5 separate regions of the Homo sapiens genome follow, and regions 2, 3, 4 and 5 are each linked to region 1. Evidence: promoter capture Hi-C in 16 types of primary human blood cells and fetal thymus (Javierre and others, 2016). All regions are on one chromosome and are shown on one strand. Each heading gives the region's core, a stretch centred on a gene start or on the middle of the fragment in contact. The rest is flanking DNA. Distances are from core to core; before and after follow the strand shown.

Evidence for each region. Contacts are between HindIII fragments. The CHiCAGO score rates a contact against its expected background, and 5 or more counts as called.
Region 2: a contact is called between the fragment with the promoter of CEP55 here and the fragment with the promoter of CYP26A1 in region 1, in 5 of 17 cell types (M1 macrophages, endothelial precursors, megakaryocytes and 2 more). The highest score is 9.5, in M1 macrophages.
Region 3: a contact is called between a fragment that was not itself captured here and the fragment with the promoter of CYP26A1 in region 1, in 11 of 17 cell types (megakaryocytes, M2 macrophages, non-activated CD4 T cells and 8 more). The highest score is 12.1, in megakaryocytes.
Region 4: a contact is called between a fragment that was not itself captured here and the fragment with the promoter of CYP26A1 in region 1, in 1 of 17 cell types (megakaryocytes). The highest score is 5.1, in megakaryocytes.
Region 5: a fragment that was not itself captured here is called in contact with the fragment with the promoter of CYP26A1 in region 1 in 2 of 17 cell types (megakaryocytes and naive CD4 T cells); the score reaches 6.0 in megakaryocytes.

The regions. Positions count from the first base shown.
Region 1 is chr10:93,071,566-93,076,020 of GRCh38, forward strand. CYP26A1 (cytochrome P450 family 26 subfamily A member 1) reads left to right here and starts at 2,328. Exons shown (of 7, transcript NM_000783.4): 1 at 2,328-2,558; 2 at 2,743-2,967; 3 at 3,214-3,504; 4 at 3,584-3,742; 5 at 4,261-4,395. The coding sequence starts at 2,370. The HindIII fragment of the contact is 6,992 bases long and covers 63-4,455 here.
Region 2 is chr10:93,493,307-93,498,128 of GRCh38, forward strand. It overlaps CEP55 (centrosomal protein 55), which reads left to right and starts at 3,306. Exons shown (of 9, transcript NM_018131.5): 1 at 3,306-3,617. RefSeq lists a silencer at 3,125-3,634. The HindIII fragment of the contact is 5,966 bases long and covers 3,051-4,822 here.
Region 3 is chr10:93,334,065-93,338,831 of GRCh38, forward strand. MYOF (myoferlin) reads right to left here. Exons shown (of 54, transcript NM_013451.4): 40 at 3,751-3,849; 41 at 1,857-1,982. Among named protein-coding and RNA genes, the nearest start is that of MYOF, 150 kb to the right of the region's middle. RefSeq lists an enhancer at 1-1,047. The HindIII fragment of the contact is 5,675 bases long and covers 1-4,640 here.
Region 4 is chr10:93,463,806-93,468,876 of GRCh38, forward strand. The region is part of intron 1 of MYOF (myoferlin); the gene reads right to left. Among named protein-coding and RNA genes, the nearest start is that of MYOF, 16 kb to the right of the region's middle. The HindIII fragment of the contact is 6,694 bases long and covers 1-4,661 here.
Region 5 is chr10:93,383,056-93,387,922 of GRCh38, forward strand. MYOF (myoferlin) reads right to left here. Exons shown (of 54, transcript NM_013451.4): 19 at 4,742-4,858. Among named protein-coding and RNA genes, the nearest start is that of MYOF, 97 kb to the right of the region's middle. RefSeq lists enhancers at 515-1,016, 1,017-1,516. The HindIII fragment of the contact is 1,237 bases long and covers 2,828-4,064 here.

The DNA.
Region 1 (4,455 bases), core at 1,078-3,577:
TCTTGGAAACGAGTTGTTTTTCAGTGAACCCACCCCCCTCCCCGCCCACCACCACCCACGAAAGCTTGGCGAGATTCCTAGATCAAAGTTCCTATTGGCCTGGTAATTTATTGACCCCCCACCCCCCGCCCTGCCCCCCTACAAGATGTTCTTTAATGATCGTTCACTCTCACATTTAATCCTTTCCTGCCGGACGCCCCCGCCGGCCTCGATGTACAGATAGATTAAAACGTTTTTTTCCCTGCGGCAATTTCCAGCGTGCAGGCCCCGCTCATCTTGTGACCCGGCTTGAGCTGAACTTGGCGAGGTGGCCCCGCAGAGTTCACTCGGATGTCACGGTCCGGCCTGCAGGGGTCACAGGCGGGTCAGGCCCGAGGATTGGGAATGGGCCCCAGGTCACGTCCCCATTCGTCGGCTTTGCACACCGGCCGGAGGCGCTGTCCAGAAAGGGGCGGACCCGGGATTTCTGAGAATTACCTCCAGCGCGATTGGCCTGGCTTCCTGCAGTGGCCAGAGGTTGGTTCGCCGTGTTTACAGCCACCAAATCGTTTGCCGGAGACTGAAACCCTGCCCAGAGCCTCTGAAACACTGGGCAGGTTATGGGGAAACGCTGACCCCCCGAAACACTCCCTGTGGCGGCGACTCTGGCTTGGAGAGTCGCTAGGATTGTGCGGGTCCCTCCGACCTCTGCAGATATTTCCTGATACCTCCGGGTTTGGGGACTACCGCGAGAAGGGCAACGCATTTAAACTCTCAGGAGCAGAGTTTTCCACCTCCAAGGGACGCCTTCCAAGGCGTGCGGCGTGCTTCTGCCAGAGACAGTGTTCAGTTTTAAACAAATGCAGGTCATTCTGTTTCATTTTCGGCGCCGCAGGTGCGTTCAGCGCCCAAACCCAGGTAGCGTGTGACCCTGACTGGTCCCGAGCCGGGAAGCTCCGGCAGGTGGAGAGCAGAGAGAGCAGGTGCGCGTCCCGCAGCGTCTGAGCTCCGGGCATTGGCAGCTCAGTAGCAGCTGATTGTAGATGGGCAAAGTACAGAAGACTTCCCAGTACGGATCCCTTCACCCCTCCCATTAGGGGTCGGTAGAGCCCTGAGTTTAGGGCCGAGCACCCCCTCACCTGGATGAGGACAGTGGCTTTACTCTGGGTGGGACTTGGGAGAGAGGAGGAGGACTCCAGTGCCCGGTGTACCGGACACCCAGGTAACGCAGTCTACCGTGCCTGGAGCTGGGAAGAGTAGTTGCAACCGGAGCCCCCTTTTGGGAACTCACTACCCTGAGGCTTAGACAGGTCGGGAATGATCGCCTCCCGGTTAAGGAGGAGGAAACAGGCACAGTGATGTGTGGTGACTTGCCCAAGGTCACACGCAGTACAGATGGAGCCGGGCCTCGGAGCCAGGACTCCTGGGCTCCCCTTCCTCTTATACCGTCTCTTTATCCTGCCAGGGCTAAGGACCCCCTTCCCTGCTGTCCAGCTGGGGCGCCAAGCAGCAGGGCCCTCCGAATAGGCGAGCTGTGCTTGGATCTCAGAGACGGGCACCGACTGCCGAGCCCCAGACGAAGTGCCCCAGGGTCGGGGATCAGGCTTGTGCAGGGTAGCACCTGGGGACCTGAGGGACCTGGAGGCCTTCTTGTATCCTGAAGTAGGACCTTCTAAGACTTCATGAGTCCTGGCCCCCTTGCAGGGGTTGGGGAGCTGGGGATCCCAGATCTGCCTATTGCGCCCGATGCCCCGAGGCTCTCTCTTGGACTCTGGCCCTGAGTTCTTCTGCGCGATCCTTCGGAGACGTCTGGAGGCCTGCTTTATGCATCTCTCTTGGACCTCAGTTTCCCCACACGTGGGAGGAGGCAGCTGGACGATTCCTGAAAGGACTTTCCCTTGCTTCCTCATCACGTGGAAGAGAGCCCACCCGGCACCTGGAAATGGAAAGCCAGTGAAGGCTGCTTTGGGCCGGGGCAGCGGGTGGGACCGGGCGGGAGGGATTCCAAAGAGACCGCCGGGAAGGCTAGAGCTTGGAATTCCGGCTCCTCGGAGTCCTGGCCCTCCCCCACCGCCGCCTCGGAGCTCAGCACACCTTGGATGGGGGAGGCGGGCAGCTCCTAGCCCCGCACCCCAGGAGGCGCGCTCGGAGGGAAGCCGCCACCGCGCCGCCTCTGCCTCGGCGCGGAACAAACGGTTAAAGATTTTGGGCAGCGCCTCGCGGGGGGAGGAGCCAGGGGCCCAATCCGCAATTAAAGATGAACTTTGGGTGAACTAATTGTCTGACCAAGGTAACGTGGGCAGCAACCTGGGCCGCCTATAAAGCGGCAGCGCCGTGGGGTTTGAAGCGCTGGCGGCGGCGGCAGGTGGCGCGGGAGGTCGCGGCGCGCCATGGGGCTCCCGGCGCTGCTGGCCAGTGCGCTCTGCACCTTCGTGCTGCCGCTGCTGCTCTTCCTGGCTGCGATCAAGCTCTGGGACCTGTACTGCGTGAGCGGCCGCGACCGCAGTTGTGCCCTCCCATTGCCCCCCGGGACTATGGGCTTCCCCTTCTTTGGGGAAACCTTGCAGATGGTACTGCAGGTAAGGGAGGGTGGGGCGGGACAGGCTGCTTCCCCGGAGCCCGGCGCGGCTCTGGGCTTCTGCTGAAGTCGGGGTAGGCGCCCCCGGGAGGCATGCTATTGCGGCTAGGAGCAGGGCTGGCGGGAGCGCGGCGCTCCCCGGCGCCCCCTCATGCCCACTTCTCTCCTCCGCCTTCCTCCCACAGCGGAGGAAGTTCCTGCAGATGAAGCGCAGGAAATACGGCTTCATCTACAAGACGCATCTGTTCGGGCGGCCCACCGTACGGGTGATGGGCGCGGACAATGTGCGGCGCATCTTGCTCGGAGAGCACCGGCTGGTGTCGGTCCACTGGCCAGCGTCGGTGCGCACCATTCTGGGATCTGGCTGCCTCTCTAACCTGCACGACTCCTCGCACAAGCAGCGCAAGAAGGTGGGGGCAGGAGGCGACGGCTGGACAGGGAGGGGGACCCCATTTATGAGCGGAATTCCGGCTGATGGATGCTAGGCGCGGGCTAGCAGCTTGAGGTGGGCTAGGACCCTCTGCCAGCTCCAGGTTAGCTTTCCCAGCTCGGAGAGTGCCATGTGTCTGGCAGGACTGGGGGTGTCTGGAAGGGGACGGCGGTAGACGAGAGGGGCGGATGGAGGCTTTTAACGCTGTCCCCTCCTCGGGACTCAGGTGATTATGCGGGCCTTCAGCCGCGAGGCACTCGAATGCTACGTGCCGGTGATCACCGAGGAAGTGGGCAGCAGCCTGGAGCAGTGGCTGAGCTGCGGCGAGCGCGGCCTCCTGGTCTACCCCGAGGTGAAGCGCCTCATGTTCCGAATCGCCATGCGCATCCTACTGGGCTGCGAACCCCAACTGGCGGGCGACGGGGACTCCGAGCAGCAGCTTGTGGAGGCCTTCGAGGAAATGACCCGCAATCTCTTCTCGCTGCCCATCGACGTGCCCTTCAGCGGGCTGTACCGGGTAAGGGCGGCAAACGGGCTGCGGACTAGGGGCGCGGGACCTGGGCGTCTGCTCACCGCCGCGCGCTCTCTGCGCTCAGGGCATGAAGGCGCGGAACCTCATTCACGCGCGCATCGAGCAGAACATTCGCGCCAAGATCTGCGGGCTGCGGGCATCCGAGGCGGGCCAGGGCTGCAAAGACGCGCTGCAGCTGTTGATCGAGCACTCGTGGGAGAGGGGAGAGCGGCTGGACATGCAGGTGAGTAGCAGCTTCAGACCAGGCACTGCGGAGTTTGGTCCCCTGGCTTTCCAAGCGCTGTTCCTGGGGCCCCCAAAGCGCGCGCCTGGGGCCCAGCTTTCTGGAGTGGGCGGCCGGCTCAGACTACAGCTATGGAATCCCGAAGGAAGGCTGAGACACCCGGTCAGGAGAGCTGCGGAAGGGGCTGCGGCGGAACTGGGAGCATCCCCTAGCCTTTCCAGGTTTCAAAGGGAAAGTTGGAATTTGCAAAAATGTTAATAAAGAACCTTGCGATTTTAATAAAACTAAGACTTTAACTCAGGAGTTTCCGGTAGAGCGGGGTCGTACTCGCCTTACTGCTCCAGCTGAACTAAAGGGACGTTGCATTTTGTTTAAAGATATTGCTTTCCTTGACTTTCTGTCAGCAAAACATTTAGCCCTTCTAGTCTTCCCTCCAGAACTCTCAGTTCGATTCTGAGTAATCCTTCTGTCAAACCGCAGGCAGACTTGTGAGAATGTGGGTCTCACTCTATTCTTAGGCACTAAAGCAATCTTCAACCGAACTCCTCTTTGGAGGACACGAAACCACGGCCAGTGCAGCCACATCTCTGATCACTTACCTGGGGCTCTACCCACATGTTCTCCAGAAAGTGCGAGAAGAGCTGAAGAGTAAGGTAGGGAGACTGGGTCTGGGGGTGTCCTTATTAGCTTAGGAAATTCAGCTGCTCCCTAGC
Region 2 (4,822 bases), core at 2,056-4,555, 420 kb after region 1:
GAAGGCAGGAAGGAGTCTGCCTGGTCAAGGAATGAAAGGTGTCAAGCATGGCTGGTTTGGGACTTTGGTCTCCACTAGGCCCCAGAGGACAGATGGAGAATTTTTTTTCCTTATTTTAAGAACAATGGTAAATCAATCAAATGCTTTGTGTTTGCATTGGGAAATAGGTGACAAGATTGCATTTGCATTATTTAAAAGAAAAAATCCCTGCTAAGGAGAAATCAGATTGAAAGGAGACAAGAGTTCATTCATTTCTTCTTGTTCTGAATTTAGAGAACATTTATTGTGTGCATTCCAGTGCTGTGCAATAGAAATATAGTATGAGCCACATTTATCATTTTGAATTTTCTAGTCACATCAAAAAAAGTAAAACACATTAGGTGAGATCCGTTTTAATATGTTTCATTTTACCCAATATATCAAAAATACTATCATTTTAACATGTAATAATATAAACAAGTATTAGTGCAATATTTTACATTCTTTTTTCATACTAAGTTTTTGAAATCTGCTGTGTATATTCACACACCTCAATTTGGACATAAAATCTTCCTCAGAAATACTTGATCTATATGTAGATTTCATAAAATTTACAATTGAAAAAACAGGTTTTTGTACCCAGGTTGTTCCAAACATACTTAAAAGTTTTCCAATAAAATAATAATAATAAAAAAAAGAAAAAAATAAGAAAATCAAAAGTTTTTCAATAAATAAACTTTTAGTTTTTAAATTAAGATTAAATAAAGTTAAAAATTCAGTTTCTCAATAACGGTGGCCACATTTCAAGCACTCAGTAGCCATCTATGGCTAGTGCTACCATATTGGATAGATCAGGAGGGACCTTTCCATCACTGCAGAAAGTTGTATTGGACAGTGCAGATCTACACGCTGGTGAGGCCCTGTGTGTTCATTAGCATTGCCTTGGAAGATGTAACCTTCAAAGGTGATAGGTGCTCTAACCTACAACAGCCTCCCTATTTCCATTTAATATCTTTAAACCCATTCAGCAGCCTTTTGATCCTGTTTTGGTTTCCCAAGAACAGGTTCCTACTGGGAAGAAAATGAGCTCACCTGCTTAGATAAATATCTAGTCTGCTTGGCTGTTACATTTCTCTTTACATGAATAAAGATGAGTTTCCCAATCTTCATCCTAGACTATCCCTGAGTGAACTATCAACATCAAAGTACTTGTGAGATCTTGTGGAAACTACCAGCTCTTCACAACCTCATGACTGGCAGCTCCTATCTGTAAAGAGCAAACATTAATTTTCAGGGCTAGCAATGGCAATTAGGGAATTTAACAAGCCCCCCAGGCCAATGAGCCTCTTGTTTGCTCCTCTTCCTCAAGGTCCCCACTCACAGGGCGACCTTTAGCCAGAAAAGAAGGTCCTGGAGGGCAGGTGTGGAATTGGAGTGTCTGGCACAGCAGGCCTGGGTGCTGGCTACCCAGGTGCCAGTCCGCCAGGTGCCACCTCTCTCCAGGGTCCCTCCTCCCTCTCCCCCATTTTTTGCTCCCCATTTGGCTTGAAGGTGAACAGGGAAATGTTTTTCTCTATATCTCTTTAAGAATCTTTGTAAATCTCTGTGGAAATTAATTTTGCCCCTCAACTCTGGGCAATGAATAATGTTCACACGATGATTTATCTTTTGCCCTGATTTTTCCCACCCTAATCCCACTTGATACTTTAGTTTACCTTCCCTTCAGAAATGGGAGCTCCTTGGAAGCAGGTACCAAACGTTATCTTGCATTCTGTTTTGGTTTTGTTTCTCTGATTCTTTAAAATTCCCCACATGGTTTTCTCATCCATTCTATTCAGTAACATTTGAGTGTTGCCTTTTGTTTAACAATGGCTAACATCAATTGAACATTTACTAAATGTTAAGCACTTTACATGAATTTCTTTCATGTAAAAAAATTTTAAAGTTTTAAAATTAGAGACAGGGATTGGGTGGGGTGAGAGTGGATCTCTCTGTGTTGCCCAGGCTGGTCTCCAACTCCTGACCTCAAGCAATCCTCGCTCCCCGTCCTCACGTAGTGGTGGGATTACAGGAATTAGCCATTCCACCTGGCCGGATTTCCTCATTTAATCCTTATAACCGAGCTGTGAAGTAAATATTATTATTTGCATCATTTTACACATCGGGAAACCGAGGCTCAAATAGGTTAAATAAATTTATCCAAGGAGACACATCTAGTCAGGGCAGTAAGGAATTAAATCTAGAAAGTCCTAATCTAGAGTTTATAACCTTTGTACAATATTGTGTACCTAGGATGTTTTGCTACTGTGTATCTACTGTTTTAAATCTCCAGCGAGTTTATGCTGGGTCTAGGAGAGAAAGGGAGGCCCTGCTAAACATTTCATGTGCTTCTTCTCTCAGCAGTAACGTTCTCAAAGCGGCTAATCAAGAGCTAGAATCGATCAATAGATAGATATCAGGCTGGAGGGTAGCAGTCTGGTCTGAAAGCCGGTCCGCTAGCATTCATAATCTCAGCGTTCAACCTGGGCGTGCCTCTCATCTCTCCCGTTAACACTCCCTGCTGTGCTGCTGATTTTTGGCAGTAATCCCAGCACTTTAGGAGGCCGAGGTGGAAGGATCACTTGAAGGCAGGAGTTCGTGATCAGAGTGGGAAACAAAGTGAGACCACCCCCCCCCCCCCCCACTCCGCTGTCTGTATAAAATTTTTTAATAAAAAATTAGCCGGGCGTGGTGGCGTGCGCCTGTAGTCTCAGCTACTCGGCAGGCTGAGGCAAGACGATCGCTTGAACCCGGGAGACTGAGGTTGCAGTGAGCTATGATTGCACCACTCCACTCCAGCCTGGGCGACAGAGTGAGACCCGAGGGGATGACAAGGGGGCTGTGCTCCTTTGTGAAATCCCGTTGTCCCAGGGCAGGAGGGGCCGCACTTCACACAGGGAGAATCTATGCTCAAGAGCGCAGAACTAGTTCGTCTCGGTCCATCGTCACTGGTTTTATCCCATTAAAAATAGTAATTTGCTTTCTCCTAAAAGCGTATAAACACAAAACCAGCCCCTGACTGCGAGACACCAAGCTTGTTTAGGTCTAAGCCCGCAGAGAACCCCCGATCCCAGAATTAGCTGGCGGGCCCGGGAGGAAGTGTTCCCGCCCTCTGTCCCGCCCCGCGGCCCCAGCCACTTCTCGGCCCGCCCTCAGGTTTACTCTCCGCCCTTCAAAGGCGGCAGCCAATCGGGGAGCCGCGTCCCCGCCGCGCGCGCGCTGCTCCTCCTTCTTGCGGGCCGCGCCCTGCCGGCAGTGACGTGCCCCGCCCTGCAGCCGCGGGATTCAAACTCCCGGAAGCGGCATCCACACCTGATGGTGTGACTCGGCCGACGCGAGCGCCGCGCTTCGCTTCAGCTGCTAGCTGGCCCAAGGGAGGCGACCGCGGAGGGTGGCGAGGGGCGGCCAGGACCCGCAGCCCCGGGGCCGGGCCGGTCCGGACCGCCAGGGAGGGCAGGTCAGTGGGCAGATCGCGTCCGCGGGATTCAATCTCTGCCCGCTCTGATAACAGTCCTTTTCCCTGGCGCTCACTTCGTGCCTGGCACCCGGCTGGGCGCCTCAAGACCGTTGTCTCTTCGATCGCTTCTTTGGACTTGGCGGTGGGTATCATCTCCTTACAGATAGGCGCAGAGAGGCCAAGTGACTTGCCCAAGGTCTTTTGTTAGGACGGCTTTTTCCGATTGGCAGGCACTTTCGTTGTGTGTTCCTCAAACATCTTTATTTTAGAAGTGAGAAAACTTGTGCCTTTTTTTGCAGTTTCTCTTTTCCTGTCTGTCTCCTCAAGTGAGATTTTATGTGGGAATTTTTAAAGATTGGCGTCGCCTTGTAGAAGATGCGGCTTGTAATTGAGGCCTTGTACCATTTACTGGATGGAAGCGCTTGTTTGGTCACCTGTCCAGCATGACTTAGGTCACTTCAGCTAATCAACCAATCATTTCTTTTCTTTTTTCTTTTTTTTTGAGATGGAGTCTCGCTCTGTCACCAAGGCTGGAGTGCAATGGCACGATCTTGGCTCACTGCAACCTCTGCCTCCTGGGTTCAAGCGATTCTCCTTCCTCAGCCTCCTGAATAGCTGGGACTACAGGCGTGCGCCACCACGCCCGGTTAATTTTTGTATTTTTAGTAGAGACAGGGTTTCGCCATGTTGGGCAGGCTGGTCTCGAACTCCTGACCTCAGATGATCCACCTGCCTCGGCCTTCCAGAGTGCTGGGATTACAGGCGTGAGCCACCGCGCCCGGCCCCAATCAACCAATCATATCTGAGGGCTTGCTGTTAGGCTCTGTGGGTAACAACAACAACAACAAAAATCAAAGTGCAGTCCTTGAAAAAATAGTTGAACAATTGAAAAAATAAAAGGTTAGCAGGAAGTGTAATTGGGTACTAGATTGTGTAGGGGTGGGGGTGGGGCAGCTATATCGTTTGTTAAGAGTTCACAGAGGGAAGGCATGCTGAGGAAGGTTTGAACTGGGGGAACCCTGTGGATGACTGGAATAGGAAATACAGGGAAAGGTGGCCGGGCGCGGTGGTTCACGCCTGTAATCCCAGCACTTTGGGAGGCCGAGGCGGGCAGATCACTTGAGGTCAGGAGTTCGAGACTAGCCTGACCAATATGGTGAAACCTCATCTCTACTAATAGATAAAAAAAAATTAGCCAGGCGTGGTGACGCGCACCTGTAGTCCCAGCTACTCAGGAGGCTGAGGCAGGAGAATCCCTTGAACCCGGGAGGCGGAGGTTGCAGTGATCTGAGATAGTGCCACTGCACTCCAGCCTGGGCGACAGAGCGAGACTCTGCCGCCCCTAAC
Region 3 (4,767 bases), core at 553-3,052, 260 kb after region 1:
CCAGTAGGGAAAGTGAAATGATTCTCAAGTAATTATTTGAGAGCTCACAGGGGAGAAGAGAGGGCAGAGCAGAAACTGGGAGTCAAGAGGAGAACATGGGCCAGTGTGATGGAGGAGGTGGTGGTGAGAAAGAGTGAAATACTGCACATTCTTTGAAGATAGGAATAACAATAATTACATTTTAAACCCAACGAAATACCAACAGTGATTCCGCTTTTCCTGTAGCACCTCTGTACTCCACCTCCCACTCCCAGGCAAACTCCTGTTTATCTTTCAAATCTCAGCTGAAAGGTGTCACTTCCTCCAGGAAACCTCCCTGACTGCTCCTGGGCTTGGTATGTCCTCTGGGTGCTCTCATCCAACCCCATACTCACCCCTGGCACAGCACTGGCCTCTGCATTGAGATAATCTATTTATTCTCTAGATCCTTCATTAGACTGTGGGCTTCTAGAGACGGGTGAGGGGAGCATAAAGTCTTGTTCATCACCCTATCTCCAGGGCCTAACACAGGACTAGGCATATAGTAACGCCACAAAAATTGTATTTTGAAGGAGCGAGCCAACAAGACCTGCTGGAGAGGCCACATATTTTGCCTTAAAACCAGGAGAAAGCACTGAAGCCGGATTCAGAACATACAGGTCTTAGTTCCAGTGGTCTTTATTCAGTCAAGCAGCATGGAATAAGCACCTACTATGTGCCAGGTACTAGGGACCCACAAAAGAACTCAAAGACTCCCGTCTGGCACAGCGATGTTCAGTAGGGTTGGCTCTTGTGCCATATGTGATTGCTTGGTGGGAGGCTGTACTGAGAAGGATTTGAGACCACACATCAGGCATCATCCTCTCGTCCCTTAGCAATGTCTGCTACAGGCAAAGGATTATAAAGCAGCAGCAGCACATCTGCCATGACTTTGCCAAGCGTGGTTGCAGGGAGGGGCAATTATAAAGCAGATACTTTCCATGTGTAAGATGCTTTCATGGAGGCATGAACCCAGACCTGTGGGAGCCCAGAGCAGGAGTGAGTCACGCTGCCCGAAGCAATCAGGGAACACTTGACAAAGAGAGTGACATTTGAGCTGGCGCTTAAAAGAATGAGTAGGACTTCGTCAGACCACAAAGCAGGTAGAAAGGGCACCCAGGGAAGGAAGAAGAGCCTGTCCCAAGCCTCCGACTTATTGAGAGGACAAGGTGTGTCCGGGGCTTGGGCGAGGCTCTCCCAGGCAGGAGGGTGGAGTGTGTGAGGGGGAGGGAGGCAGGGGACCATGTAGCTTGGGAAAGACTGGCTCTGCCTTTGAAAGGAGTTGCGACTTGACTGTGAAAACCCAAGCAAAGCCTTTCAGTAGTCCAGAGAGAAGATCAGATTTGGTTGCATGGAGGCTGGAGAGGAGTGTGACGAGAAAGGTGACAAGGACTGTCAAGTGAGAAGTTGTCACGATGATCCTGCTGAAAGCATGGTAGGGGCAGTAGGATGAAGAGAGGAACTAGATCTTGGAGAGACTGTATCTTAGGATTCAAGGCTGCTTGGCGTGAGCAGGGAGGCAGGAAGAGATGCGGAGATGGCTCAGTCAAGGCTGCTTGGCGTGAGCAGGGAGGCAGGAAGAGATGCGGAGATGGCTCGAGTGCTCTGGCCCCCCTCCCCCTTTTCCTTTCTGGCACCTTCCAGCATCCCTCAGAGGCTGCAGGATGTGCCCCTACCTAGACCCTGGTTGTCCTTTATCCTAGGCCTATATAGAAAATGCCAGCATCCCTCAGAGGCTGCAGGATGTGCCCCTCCCTAGAGCCTGGTTGTCCTTTATTCTAGGCCTATATAGAAAATGAAGGTGGATTTTAAACGGGACCAACACACATCTTACTCACCTTAAACTCTCCAACCACAGAAGGATCTTCATTTTCATCCGACTTGCCTCGGTACAACTTGAACGTATCTGAGAAGTCTGTCAGGCCCTCAAATTCTGCTACATTTTCTAGTTCACAATTATATATCTGAAAACCACCAACAGAGTCTTAATTTCTCATTAAAATGCAGGTAAGGTCTAAAATCAAAAGGGCTGACAGTATCAAGTGGGCCTGAGGTTGTGGATGGGGCGACCGGAACTCCCAAATCGCTGGCGGGAGTGTAGACAGATACAACCACTTTGGAAAATGTCTGGTAGTTTCTTTTGGAGTTAAGTAGCCACCTATTCTATGATCTAGAGATTGCATTCCTAGGCATTTACTGATGACAAGTGAAAACACGTACACATGGTAGAAGAATGTTCACAGCAGCTTCATTATCAGGAGAATGGAAAAATAACTTGTGGCATATCCACACAATGGAATACTACTCAGCAATGACAAGGGAAAAACTATGAATACACACAACCACATGATGAGTCTCAAAACTACAACGTGGGGATAAAAGGCCAGACACACAAAACATAAATCATACAAGTCCATTTAGAGCAAGTGTAAAATCAGGCAAAATCAGTTTGTGGTGAGAGAAATCCAATCAGTTGCTCCTAGGAGGGATGAGGATAGTGGAAAATTGACTGGAAAGGGACACGGGGAAGTTTTCTGTGGGAATGGGAATGTTCTGTCTTGTTTTGGGTGGTGGTTCACATAGGGTATATACAATAATCACAACTTGTTGAATGGATCACTTTATCGTATGTAAAATATTTCTCAATTTAAAAAGCAAGAAGGGAAGAGGATGAAGGAGGAGAAGGAAGGAAGAAGGCAGGAGAAAAGGAAGAAGGAAGGGAGGCAGGTAGGAGGGAGGAAGAAGGGAGGGAAGGCAGGAAGAAAAGAAGGAAGGAAGAAGGAAAGAAAGGAAGGAAAGAGAAGAAAGGAAGGAAAGAGAAGAAAGGAAGGAAGGGAAGGAAAGGAAGGAAGGAAGGAAAGAAAGGTAGGAAGACAGGCAGGCAGGAGGAAAAGAAGGCAGGCAGGAAGGGAAGAGGGAGTGAGGGAGGATGGAGTGTGAGGCTGATCCTTCAGCCTCATTGGATCATTTTTCTGAATGAATGGTCCTTTATATGCTAGTATTTCTTAAGCTACACTGAGAAGTTATGACAATAACATGAAAAGGTGTGGGTTTTTTTTTTTTTTGCTTTGATGGGGAAAATTATTTCAATGACCAGATATTTCTCATTCTAAAGTTTTTTTTTCTCATATACACTGTTCTGAAAACTTTAGCACTGCTTCTGCTTGAGGACACTACAGGCTGAAAATTGAATGAAGAATTAGAAAATTCAAAACATGAACAGAAAGCTCAGAGCTAGTCAGCCGTGCCTAGCTCAGTCGCTTGTCTTCCTGCTGTATACATGTTCTCACGGCTGTGATTTTATGCTGCATACATGTGACAGATTCAACTTTTCAGCTTGTGAAACCAATCCCTGTTCAAAGTACACAACAAAGCATGTTGACATCTTGTGTCATTCTGCAAAGAGCACTATGACTTCTGGGTTTCCCTGAGTCAAACTGGATCATCGTGGCCTAATTAGTGTGGTGCCAGCCCATTCCCAACCATCTGCCAGATGCCTCCAAGCCCCAATGTGGCAGTCACGTAACCATAACTCAATAGCTGTCCTCAAGTCCCTGGAATCTTGGCAAAGCCGAAACTCATGCAAGAGGGCTCTCCGGGAAGACAGAGGTTTTCCTGGGCCCTGCTCATTAGCACCCACCCAAGGGACCTTTTAGTCATCCTCTTAGCTCTGCCTGTGGCCAGTTTCAAAGGATGTTGATTCTCCACCCATAGCAGCATAGATCCAGGTACCTTGAGCTTGGAATAGCCTTTCTGAATATACTGTCCGCATTTTTCATGTTCCCCTGAGGAAGCATAAAATTTACTCCACCAGTCCACGATTTCTTCCTCCTAAAGACATGCCAAAATGGAAAAATCTTTAGTGATGTCCTGGATTTCCAATCGATGCAGGAAAATGCATTTGTAATAGTTAAGAAGAAATAGGTTCTTCTGACCCTGTTAAAAGTGAGATTATATGACTTTTGTTTACATGCACAATGGACAAAGCATTCACGACTCTCCTACTCAGAAGCTAGAGGTGAAATGGCCATTCTGGGCCGATGAAATGTGTTTGGCTTTAATGCCCACAATCATACTAGATAATGTTCTTATGTCTTTTACACACAGTCTATTAATTTGTTGGTTTTTACATTTTTATTCTATTGACTTCATATTTACATATACATATAAATTTAAAGAAAACCTCCAATATGTGTTTTCTACTATCTCATTTTCTTAGCCCTTTTAGCCAGTAATGCCTTGTAATACAATACTCACTAGCTAAAAATTGGAAAAACTGGTTTTAATTCAAGTTCCTTCCTTTATGTTATAAGCCATACCCTTATGTTTCAAGCTGTACTGGCTTGGGCAAGTTGTTTAACATCTCTGAGCATCAATTTCTTCATCCACTGAATGCAATAATAACACAATGGACAAAGCATTCACATGCTGCCTTCATCTACCTGCCTCCATGTACCTCCAAAAGTTGTTCTGGAAATCATATGGGATCTTTAGGAGAAAGAGCTTTGAAAATTATAAAACGTGAAACGAAAGGCAGGAGGCATCATGGTTCAGTTAGACCAGGGCTCCCAACCTATCCTAGGAGATGCAATCAGTCTGGGGTGAGACCAGGGCATCCAATAAGCTTTCAGAAGTTCCCCAGGAGAGTCCAATACGTAGACAGTGTTGGGAATCTCTGGTTTGAATGGGTAGTCCTTGGTTGGGCAGAAGGGACAGCATGTCAGAGTCACTTGTGGAATATTGTCAAAC
Region 4 (5,071 bases), core at 65-2,564, 390 kb after region 1:
AGGCTGCAGTGGCCACACCCCTGCACTTCATCCTGGGTGTTAGAGCAAGACCCTGTCTCAAAAAAAAAAAAAAAAAAAAAAGGCCTGAAAGACATCAGGACTCCTGAGACTGGCTTGCTACATCTGTGCCGGTGGTCAGCTGCGCTGGTTCATTTTAATGTCAAGTTGGCTAGGCTATGGTGGTGTCTAATTGTTTGGTCAAACATAAGTCCAGATGTTGCTGTCGAGGTATTTTGTAGATGTGATAAACATTTACACTCAGTTGACTTTAAGTAAAGCAAAATTACCCTCTATAATTTAGATGGGCCTCATCCAAACAGTTGAAGGTCTTAAAAGCAAAAACTGGTTTCCTGGAGAAGAAATTCTGCCTCTAGACTCTAACATAGAAACCCTGCCTGAGTTTTCTAAGCTGTGGAATTCAGACTAGAGATTGCAACATCAACTCTTACATGAATTTCCAGCTTGCTGGCCCGCCCTGCAAATTTCAGACTTGCTAGCCCCCACAACTGCATAAGCCAGTTCCTTAAAATCTCTCTTTCTGTCTCTGCACAAACACATGCACACACATCCCATTGCTTCTGCTGCTCTGGAGAATCCTGACTAGTCCAACCAATAACACCAGGTGCCCACGGAAGTAACACGATGGTAACACATTTGAAATGCTTCCAAATACACACCGTCTCACTGATCCTAAAAATCCTGCAGGGAAAAGCACAGATGTCGGCCCAGCCCCTCTGACTGAACTTTCATATCTGTGACTTCTCTTCCTTTGAGCTGTTATCTTAGGAAAATATAAGGCTGAACCCCCAAGCTCAGAGTCCCTCATATATAAACTGATGCATTCAGACGAGATATATAATCTCTAAGTTTTCCCCCAGACTTATGGTACATAACCTTTATGATGTGCCCCCCAAGTCCTGAACGGTTAGATTGCTGTGTCTTTCTGAAATGGCCTCAGGAAAAGTTAGGGTGCTGTCTACAAAAGCTCCCTAAGTAACTCAGCTCTTCGGTAGACAAAATAGAACAACAAGATCTCTAGGTTCAGCCAAGAGTCTACATTTGATCTCCCATTCAGAAGTACTTCTTCCCCTTTTCTAGGTCTCTGGGTCATGCCTCCTTTCTTTTGAGATATATAAAGCCCCATATGAATTCATCTGCCATTTTGCCTAACATTTCACACACCCCTGAACCACACCCATACATGGCTAGCACTTATTATTAAGTGCTCTGAACTGAGTCACTGTTCCCAGTACTTCCCATGGATTCTCTCACTTAATCTTCACAACTCTAACAGATAAATTCTATTATGATCATTCCCAGTTACAGAGGAAGAAACCAAGACACAGAGAGGTTAAGCAACTTATTAGAGGTCATACAGCTAGTAAGTGATGGAGCTGGGATTCAAACCCCGGTCGAAAGAGACAAAAAGCAATTAGTTTCCAAAGTTGGAGGATTAAGACAAGAGGGTGATGCCTTGAAGGCTGAGACTATGTATTATTAATATTGTTATTCCCCCCACAACGCTTACTACATAGTAATTTCTCCATGACGGAGTAAATTGGACTTCATAAGTTCATATAAGTGTGATTACTAGGCGGCTTTAATGATTAAATGAAAGAATGAATACAAAGTGCCCAGCCCAGGGCCTGGCACACAGTAAGCACTAAACAAATGAGAGCTATCAGATGATTTCTTTCTTTTTCTTTTCTTTTTTCTTTCTTTTTTTTCTTTTCTTTTTTTTTTTTTTTGAGATGACTGGAGTGCAGTGGCACAATCTCGGCTCACTGCAACCTCCACCTCCTGGATTCAAGCCATTCACCTGCCTCAGCCTCCCAAGTAGTTGGGACTGTAGGCATGTGCCACCATGCCCATCTACTTTTTGTATGTTGAGTAGAGATGGGGTTTTACCATGTTGGCCAGGCTGGTCTCGAACTCCTGACGTCAGGTGATCCGCCCACCTCCGCCTCCCAAAGTGCTGGGATTACAGGCGTGAGCCACCGCACACAGCTAGATGATTTCTTATTACAGCACCAGGGCAGCCTCCTTGCATCCCCCCAGGGAGTTCCCAGGCTGTGGAGCTCCGGAGGGCAGGGCCCCTGTGACTGGAGGAAGTGCCCTGTGAGGCTGGGACCGCCCTGGTGGAATATTTCTTCCACGTGGCTCCATTCCAGGCTTCTGAGTTTCCCTGGGGCAGCTGGCATGTGAGCAGTGACTGCTCCTCTCTGGCAGGCAGCCTGGCAGCCTCCAGGAGCTGGCTAATTTCTACTATCAACAAGGGGCAGAGAAGTTTCTGAGAAGGGCTGGCAGAAACGCCTCCACCCTGGGGACTTGAGAGACACCTGGGGGAGCACAGGGACACAGGGCCCATCAGGTGGACCCCTCTCCAGGAGTGTCTCTGACTTTGGCTTTCCAACCTTGGCTGCCCTATCGTTCCAGGAAGATGCTGCCAAACAGGTTCTAGGAGAAAGGCATTTTGGGCAAGTGGCAACAGGATACAAAGCGAGGCTGTTTGGGACATTTCTGAAACAGTCACTGATATCACTGATAAACAGAAATGCCCCAGCAAAAAGGCAGGAGGGGTGACTGCTCCCCTCTCCACACCCAGTGCCCCACTGGCCTCTGGGAATGACCTTTCAGATGTACAGGCTCTTGAATCAAACCCACATTTTCCAAGGGAGCTGCAGTGAAGTCCAGTCCATTTGAATGACTCAGCCAGAATCTGCTTCCTAAAAGCTGATGCTGGGGCGTGGTCATGTCCCAGCTCTGCTCACTGCCAGGGCTGCTGGGAAGGGCTCCCAGGAGGGCCAGGCACCTGGCTTGACTGCCTTGGTGTTTGTGTTGTGTGCTGGGCATATTAAACACATTCACGTCTGTTCCCTACAAGGGAGGCTGGGCGCAGTGCTCACACCTGTAATCCCAGCACTTTGGGAGGCCAGAGGTGGGAGATGGCTTGAGTCCAGGAGTTTGAGACCTGCCTGGGAAACATAATGAGACTCCATCTCTACAAAAAATTTAAAAATTAGCCTGGCATGGTGGCTTGCACCTGTGGTCCCAATTACTCACTTAGGAGGCTGAGGTGGGAGGATCACTTGAGCCCTAGAGATCAAGGCTGCAGTGGGCCGTGATCAGGCCACTGCACTCCAGCCTGGGTGACAGAGCAAGACCCTATCTCAAACAAACAAGCAAACAAACAAACAACAACAACAAAAATAGGAGATATGAGTATGCTCATTTTACAGATAAGGAAACTGAGGATCAGGGTTGTTAACTGACTTGCCCGAGATCATAGAGCCAGTAAGTGGCAGAGCTGAGCTTCAGACCCAAGTCAGCCTTGTTTCCAAACCTGTGCTCTTTTTTTTTAAATTTTATTATTATTATACTTTAAGTTTTAGGGTACATGTGCACAATATGCAGGTTTGTTACATATGTATACAAGTGCCATGTTGGTGTGCTGCACCCATTAACTCGTCATTTAACATTAGGTATATCTCCTAATGCTATCCCTCCCCCCTCCCCCGACCCCACAACAGTCGCCAGAGTGTGATGTTCCCCTTCCTGTGTCCATGTGTTCTCATTGTTCAGTTCCCACCTATGAGTGAGAACATGCAGTGTTTGGTTTTTTTGTCCTTGCGATAGTTTGCTGAGAATGATTAAAAAGTCAGGAAACAACAGGTGCTGGAGAGGATGTGGAGAAATAGGAACACTTTTACACTGTTGGTGGGACTGTAAACTAGTTCAACCATTGTGGAAGTCAGTATGGCAATTCCTCAGGGATCTAGAACTAGAAATACCATTTGACCCAGCCATCCCATTACTGGGTATATACCCAAAGGATTATAAATCATGCTGCTATAAAGACACATGCACACGTATGTTTATTGCGGCACTATTCACAATGGCAAAGACTTGGAACCAACCCAAATGTCCAACAACGATAGACTGGATTAAGAAAATGTGGCACATATATGCCATGGAATACTATGCAGCCATAAAAAATGATGAGTTCATGTCCTTTGTAGGGACATGGATGAAACTGGAAACCATCATTCTCAGCAAACCTGTGCTCTTAACTGCCACTGCAGGCAGAGGGTGCCAGGCGACCTGTCACTTTTTCAGACCTTCCAGTGGTGTGAACTTGGTCTACTTACTCCAGCTCTTCATATCTAGACTTCTTCATTAATAAAGATTGGTATCTAATGCCCAGGAATAATTCCTACCAACTATAGGGTTTACCATCTGCCAGGCACTCTTCTAAGGGCTTTGTAAATGTTACCTATTATTATTATGATCCTTATTCAAGGCACAAGAAAGTTAAGTAGCTTGTCCAGGATTACCTGCTAGTAAGAAACAAAGCCAGAATTTGAATATAGGTCTTCTGGCTCTGGAGCCACTCAACCTCTCTGGCTTCTGACTAGTATATTTCACATAATTTGCTAGAGAATGAATTAAGTCTCAAGTACTCAGCAAATACATTTCAAACCCAGCTGAGGAGGTAGGGCCTACAGTGCCTCTTAAGTCCCGAGTGTCCTCTAAAAAGGGGATACAAAAGCCCACCTGGTAGAATTGCAGCAAGGATCAAATGAGAAAGCATACCCATGCCCAAGACACAGGGGACATTACCAGGTGTTGGAATCAGAACTATCAACTGCTTCCTTCAGGCAAGCTTTGGGAGGATCCAGTCCTCTGTCCTTCCTCGCTCCAAGAGATGGTATCAAGAGAAAATAAAATAGTCACTTAAAACAACCTTGAAAACAAATGCAAAGCGCGGAGTGAAAAATCTTGATAATTAGATCCTATCCCTCCCAGGCCAAGAATTTCCAGTTGAATTTAACCTCAGCTTCAGACCCTGGTGTCTCATCATTAGTCATCTCTTTCACTGGAATTTTGGGCCCTGCCAGCAGTTTAATCTACTTTCCTCAACCCTCCTTCCTATGCTGTGCATGGCTTTCACCTCTGGGCGCTTTAGCAAGCTGGGCTGGTTGTTTGCTGCAGATCAGAGGGAGAGCTGGGAGTCAGGAGTGTTTGTGAGCTGTTGTTTGTCAGTGGGGCCTGGGACAAGGACAGAGGGTGG
Region 5 (4,867 bases), core at 2,196-4,695, 310 kb after region 1:
TGGCTAATTTTTGTATTTTTAGTAGACACGGGGTTTTACCATAGTTGGCCAGGCTGGTCTCTAACTCCTGACCTCAAGTGACCTGCCTGCCTCGGCCTCCCAAAGTGCTGGGATTACAGGCATGAGCCACCGTGCCTGGCTGGAATTTTTAAATTTTTAAGGACTGTTTTAAGAACTTCTGACAGTGACTGAAGCTTGTGGTCTTGAAGAACCCCTGGACATCCTTCTATTACAGAGTCTCCATTTTGGTTAAAGGAGTTTTTGACATGGTATAATAGAACCCTCCAATAGGGTTTTGTCAAATCCCCTCTAGGCCTCAATCTTTCTAAAAAGTCTCTCTAAACACTGGTTTGTAACCTGAGCTGCACATTGAATGACCTGAGGAAGCTTTGACGGGAGCATTGTGAGTCTAAAAGCCTCCCTAGCTTAGTCCACTGTCACCTTGATAAGGGAGGATTGGGGGTGCACGCTACTTGTCAAGAGCTCTGCTTAACTACCCACAGCGAAGCCCCCTGGAATACCCGTGGTCCAGAATGATGTGGAAATTCTGGGTTTGGGTTTGAATTGTGTCAAAATGAAAAAGTAGGAAGTTATTTGGATTAGTCATAACTACATACAGCATAACTTCTTTGTAAACCAACTAGGATGATAGGAGAAAAGGGAAAGAGCTAAAAATAGGAAACATAATTTGTGGCCTGAGTCAGGACCCAGGAGAAAATGACCGGTATTTAAGCCAGAGCCATCTGTTAAGCCAGGGACTGCACAGGATGGAGAAGGATCATGGGGAGGCTTGGAGGTGGGGTGGGAACTACGGGGATGATACTCCCAGCTGGGCCGGCTCTACCCCGTAGGCCTCCACATAGCCAGGATTCCATTAGAACCCCATGGATGCTCTCACGCAGAGCTTGCAAAATGACCCACAGAATCCCTGATAGGACCCTCACCCTGGAGAGTCTGAGCCCTAAAAGCAATAGTTTGGGCTTCTGGCCATCAGCACAATTCCCAACAGAGAAGGGACTCACTATGAGCAAGCCGCTGAAGATGGAGCCGCTGGATCACTGTGCAAGCCCAGATTCCAGGAGGGGCAACGCTACCATCTGCTCACCTGTGCCAGAGCCAGGCTACCCTCGATGATTCAGGCAGCTGAGAATTCTGCCGCTCCCTCAGACCTTTCCCACTTCCTCTCTGCCCTCAGGGCACAAAGAGGTAGAGAGAGGAAGGAACAATAAACACCATTCAGAGAAGTACAGAGCCTGGGACAAGATCTGCCTACAACAAGAGAAAATGAAATAATATAAATTGGGCTGGGCGTGGTGGTTTACGCCTTTAATCCCAGCACTTTGGGAGGCCGAGGCTGGCGGCGGATTACCTGAGGTCAGGAGTTTGAGACCAGCCTGGCCAACATGGTGAAACTCTATCTCTACTAAAAATACAAAAAATTAGCTGGGCATGGTGAGAGGTGCCTGTAATCCCAGCTACTCAGGAGGCTGAGGCAAGAGAATCACTTGAACCCAGGAGGTGGAGGTTGCAGTGAGCCAAGGTCACACCATTGCACTCCAGCCTGGGCAACAAGAGTGAAACTCTGTCTCAGAAAAAAAAAAAAAAAAGAAGAATGTAAGTTGTAGTCTATTGGACTTAGGTGGGGTTAGGGCCTTGGGGCTCTCTTTCTGATCATCAGTGACTAGTGCACCTTGTGGATAAGGTGGTATAAAGTAGAGTTTCAGCAGTCGATTTGCAAAAGGAGGTGATTTCTGTCAAGCAAGATACCGATAAGGGCTAAGAGTTGTTGAAAGTGGCTGTGGACACACAAGGCATGGGACATTAAAGGTCAGTGACAAGATCAGGTACCAATGAACACTGCCCAGCATGCCACCTTCGGTATGTCTACTGAAGGGAGCTGATACCTGATGGAGCAGCTGGAAGAACCTGAAGGTGCTGTTTCTAGCAATATTTTTGAGCCCTTAATGTGGGCCAGACCAATGAGAGCTCTCAAGGAGATTGTAGTTGAGTAGGAGAGAGAATGCAAGTGCATAGAATGCTCCCAAAATACATTCGGTCACATCCAAGGAAAATGGGGAAAGAGGAGCAGGGAGAAAGCAGTCCAAGAACAGACTCTTGATCCTGGAGACAAAAAATGGAGTCCTTTAGTGGCAGGGCAGAGGTTCCAGAAGCCAGCGGGTATTAGAATAACACTGGGTTGGCAACACTTGATCTTCTGTCTGCCTGATTCTTACTGTGGAAGTGGCCAGGCTGAATCTGCTGCATCCCTCCTGCACTGCAGCCTCTCTTGACCAGGCCCACCGGGAGCAATAGCTCAGCTCTGCTTTAGAAAGATGGGGAGCACTTGGCAGTTTGGCAAAAAATTTGCCCATTTGTTGCAGCCTCTTTAGCTTTACCAAAAAGTTTTGTTAGCTGCACATAATCCAGAACAGAGGACCTTTGCAAGACAGACAAGGGTCATGAGCATGTTTGTAGGTTGACTGCATTCGTTAAGTCCTTCTGGCAGGTGCACAGATCTGCTCATTTCACTCTCTCCTGGGGCTCCTGTTGCTTGAAGTGTGGCTATGTCTTCAGAATCCTCATTTCTCTCCTATTCTGTAACACTGTTAGGTTTTTAAAATTTTTGCTTCATTTCACTTTTGATTTATATTTATTTAATTAAAAAGATGAGCTATTTTGCTGTCTGTGTTTAATTTAGAGCAAAGAAAATGAATTCTGTTTTACCAGTCAATAAAAAGCTGTTCTTTTATTCTGTTGACATATACTGTGGGCAATATATATTGTTGACTTTTTTTTTTTTTTGCTTTTACACTAAATTAATGAAATAAGCTTCTTTGCCTGTATGTGTTTAACTATTTGCAGTGAAGAAAACTAATTTGGTTTTGCATTCCAGTTAATAAAGCATTTAAAAAATATTTTCTTGGGCCTCTTTCTCCTTCTCCCTGCAACTATGGTTATTTAAAACAAAGAGAAGCAGCATGAACTTAAATTACATTCTGGTGATGGAACCAAATAAAAGAGGTACTATAATGGTTGAGTGTCCATGGTGGCATTTCTGAATAACCCTGAATTCCAACCAATATTTCAAGAGCTAACTCCAATCTGTAACTACTCAAGTCAAGAACCACCATGTGTCTCCACGGAGGCCTCCAAGTGGTTTCTGGCTATTCTTTTGCATGATCCTGGCTGTAACTAGCATGCAAACTGTCCCTTTTCTCACTCTCCCGCCCTCTTTTTTCCTTTTCTTAATTTTTCCTCAAGATCTATTGCAATTCCTGGACTTCAGAGTGGGTAATGTTGTGGAATAGAAAGACTATGACCAGGACCTTATTGACTTTTGGCTCCGTGTCTCTTTAGTAAAAAAACAAAACAAATGATCATCTTTGCTGTAGTAATTCATGGGGAAGAACTATTTATTTTCCCCATGTGAAGTTACACGGATGCCCCGTGGCTTGCTGCTGTGGTGATGCTAGGTTCCTTCCTGAGGCTGGGGGGTGGAGAGAGGGCAGTCTCAGGAGCCTGCTCCTTTCCTCTCAAAGGAGGAGACAGGAATGAAATTGGTGCAGCTCAAGCACTGGACCACAGATGTTCCCAACATGTAAAGGCTGAGGAATCCAGAACAGACTGCTTTGGATGCTAACCTCCTGATACGGCTGCCTTCTGGGAGTCAATGAGCAAGGCCACATTGCTCTGGGGAAGAAGGGATAGTTTCTGTTAAAGGGTGTGGCTATTCTCCCTGTCAATCATCCTGCAAAGGGGGCAGATGTAACAGGCAGACATCAGACGACTAGAGGGAGAAGGCCCTGGCTCGCTGGAGAACTCACGGCAGTTGGGCCTGGACTCAGATGAAAACGTGTTCTGGGTACCACGGGAGTTTGGGGGAGAGCATGGAGAACCCAGTCCTGCCACAAGGAGACAGGCTGCGAGTAGACAGGAAGGCTGACTGTCAGGGACCCAGAACACCAGCCTGACCCCATGAGCTTTGAGAATAGCCACATTTCGCAACCACGTTGTCACCCTTTTTACTGTATTTTCGTATTCTTATCCCAAAAACTGAAAGTGAAAGCTTTTTAAAAGTTGCTGTTTGGTTTCTGCTGTAAAGTGGTGAAATCAGGGCAGGGCCTGTCCTGTGTGCTTGGAACAGAGGGCAACAGCAGCCTGGGGCAGCTGGGGGGCTGGCGGTGATTTGCAACCCAGCAAGGAGGGCCGCGGGCAGAGGGGCATCCATGAGCTGGCTGTGCTGGCAAATGATTCAGATTTGTGGAACACACAGGCATCGACCTGGATTCTCAGAAATGGTTGGGGAAGTCAACTGGGAAGATTTCCTGTCTTCAAGGAGGAAGCGGGGTTCACAGCCATTGCAGTGTGGGCCCTCAGCACACCTGCCCTCCTGTGCTGGGAAGCCTGAGGCCCACCAGCCACCTCTGAAAATGGAAATGAGTAGAGGTGGCACCTACAGCTCTTGGTGCCAGCAAGAAGTGGCTGTTATGGCCACTTCCCCATGACCCCCAACGCCAGTTAGCAAACAGGTCATTCAGTTTGTGGGTATCAGTGTTCTTGCCAGTTTTCAATAGGGTATTAACATCTCAAAGGATGAAGCGATCCTCATAGGGCTGTTGTAGAAACATCCAGATGAGGGCCTCATTGTGAGTTGGGTTGCCTTCCGACTCCCCCAGCTACCCCTTCAGTCCCTGGAGGTCTCCTTTTCTATACCATGCATTACTCACACTTTAACATTTACCTCAACAACCAGCAGGTCATCATTTGAAATGGGCTCAAGCTTTTTATCTGGTGGTGTCTTCTCAAGAAAAGTGGCTAATTCAACCAAGATCCTGCCTCTGTAGGCAACTCCTTCCCCCTGAAAGGC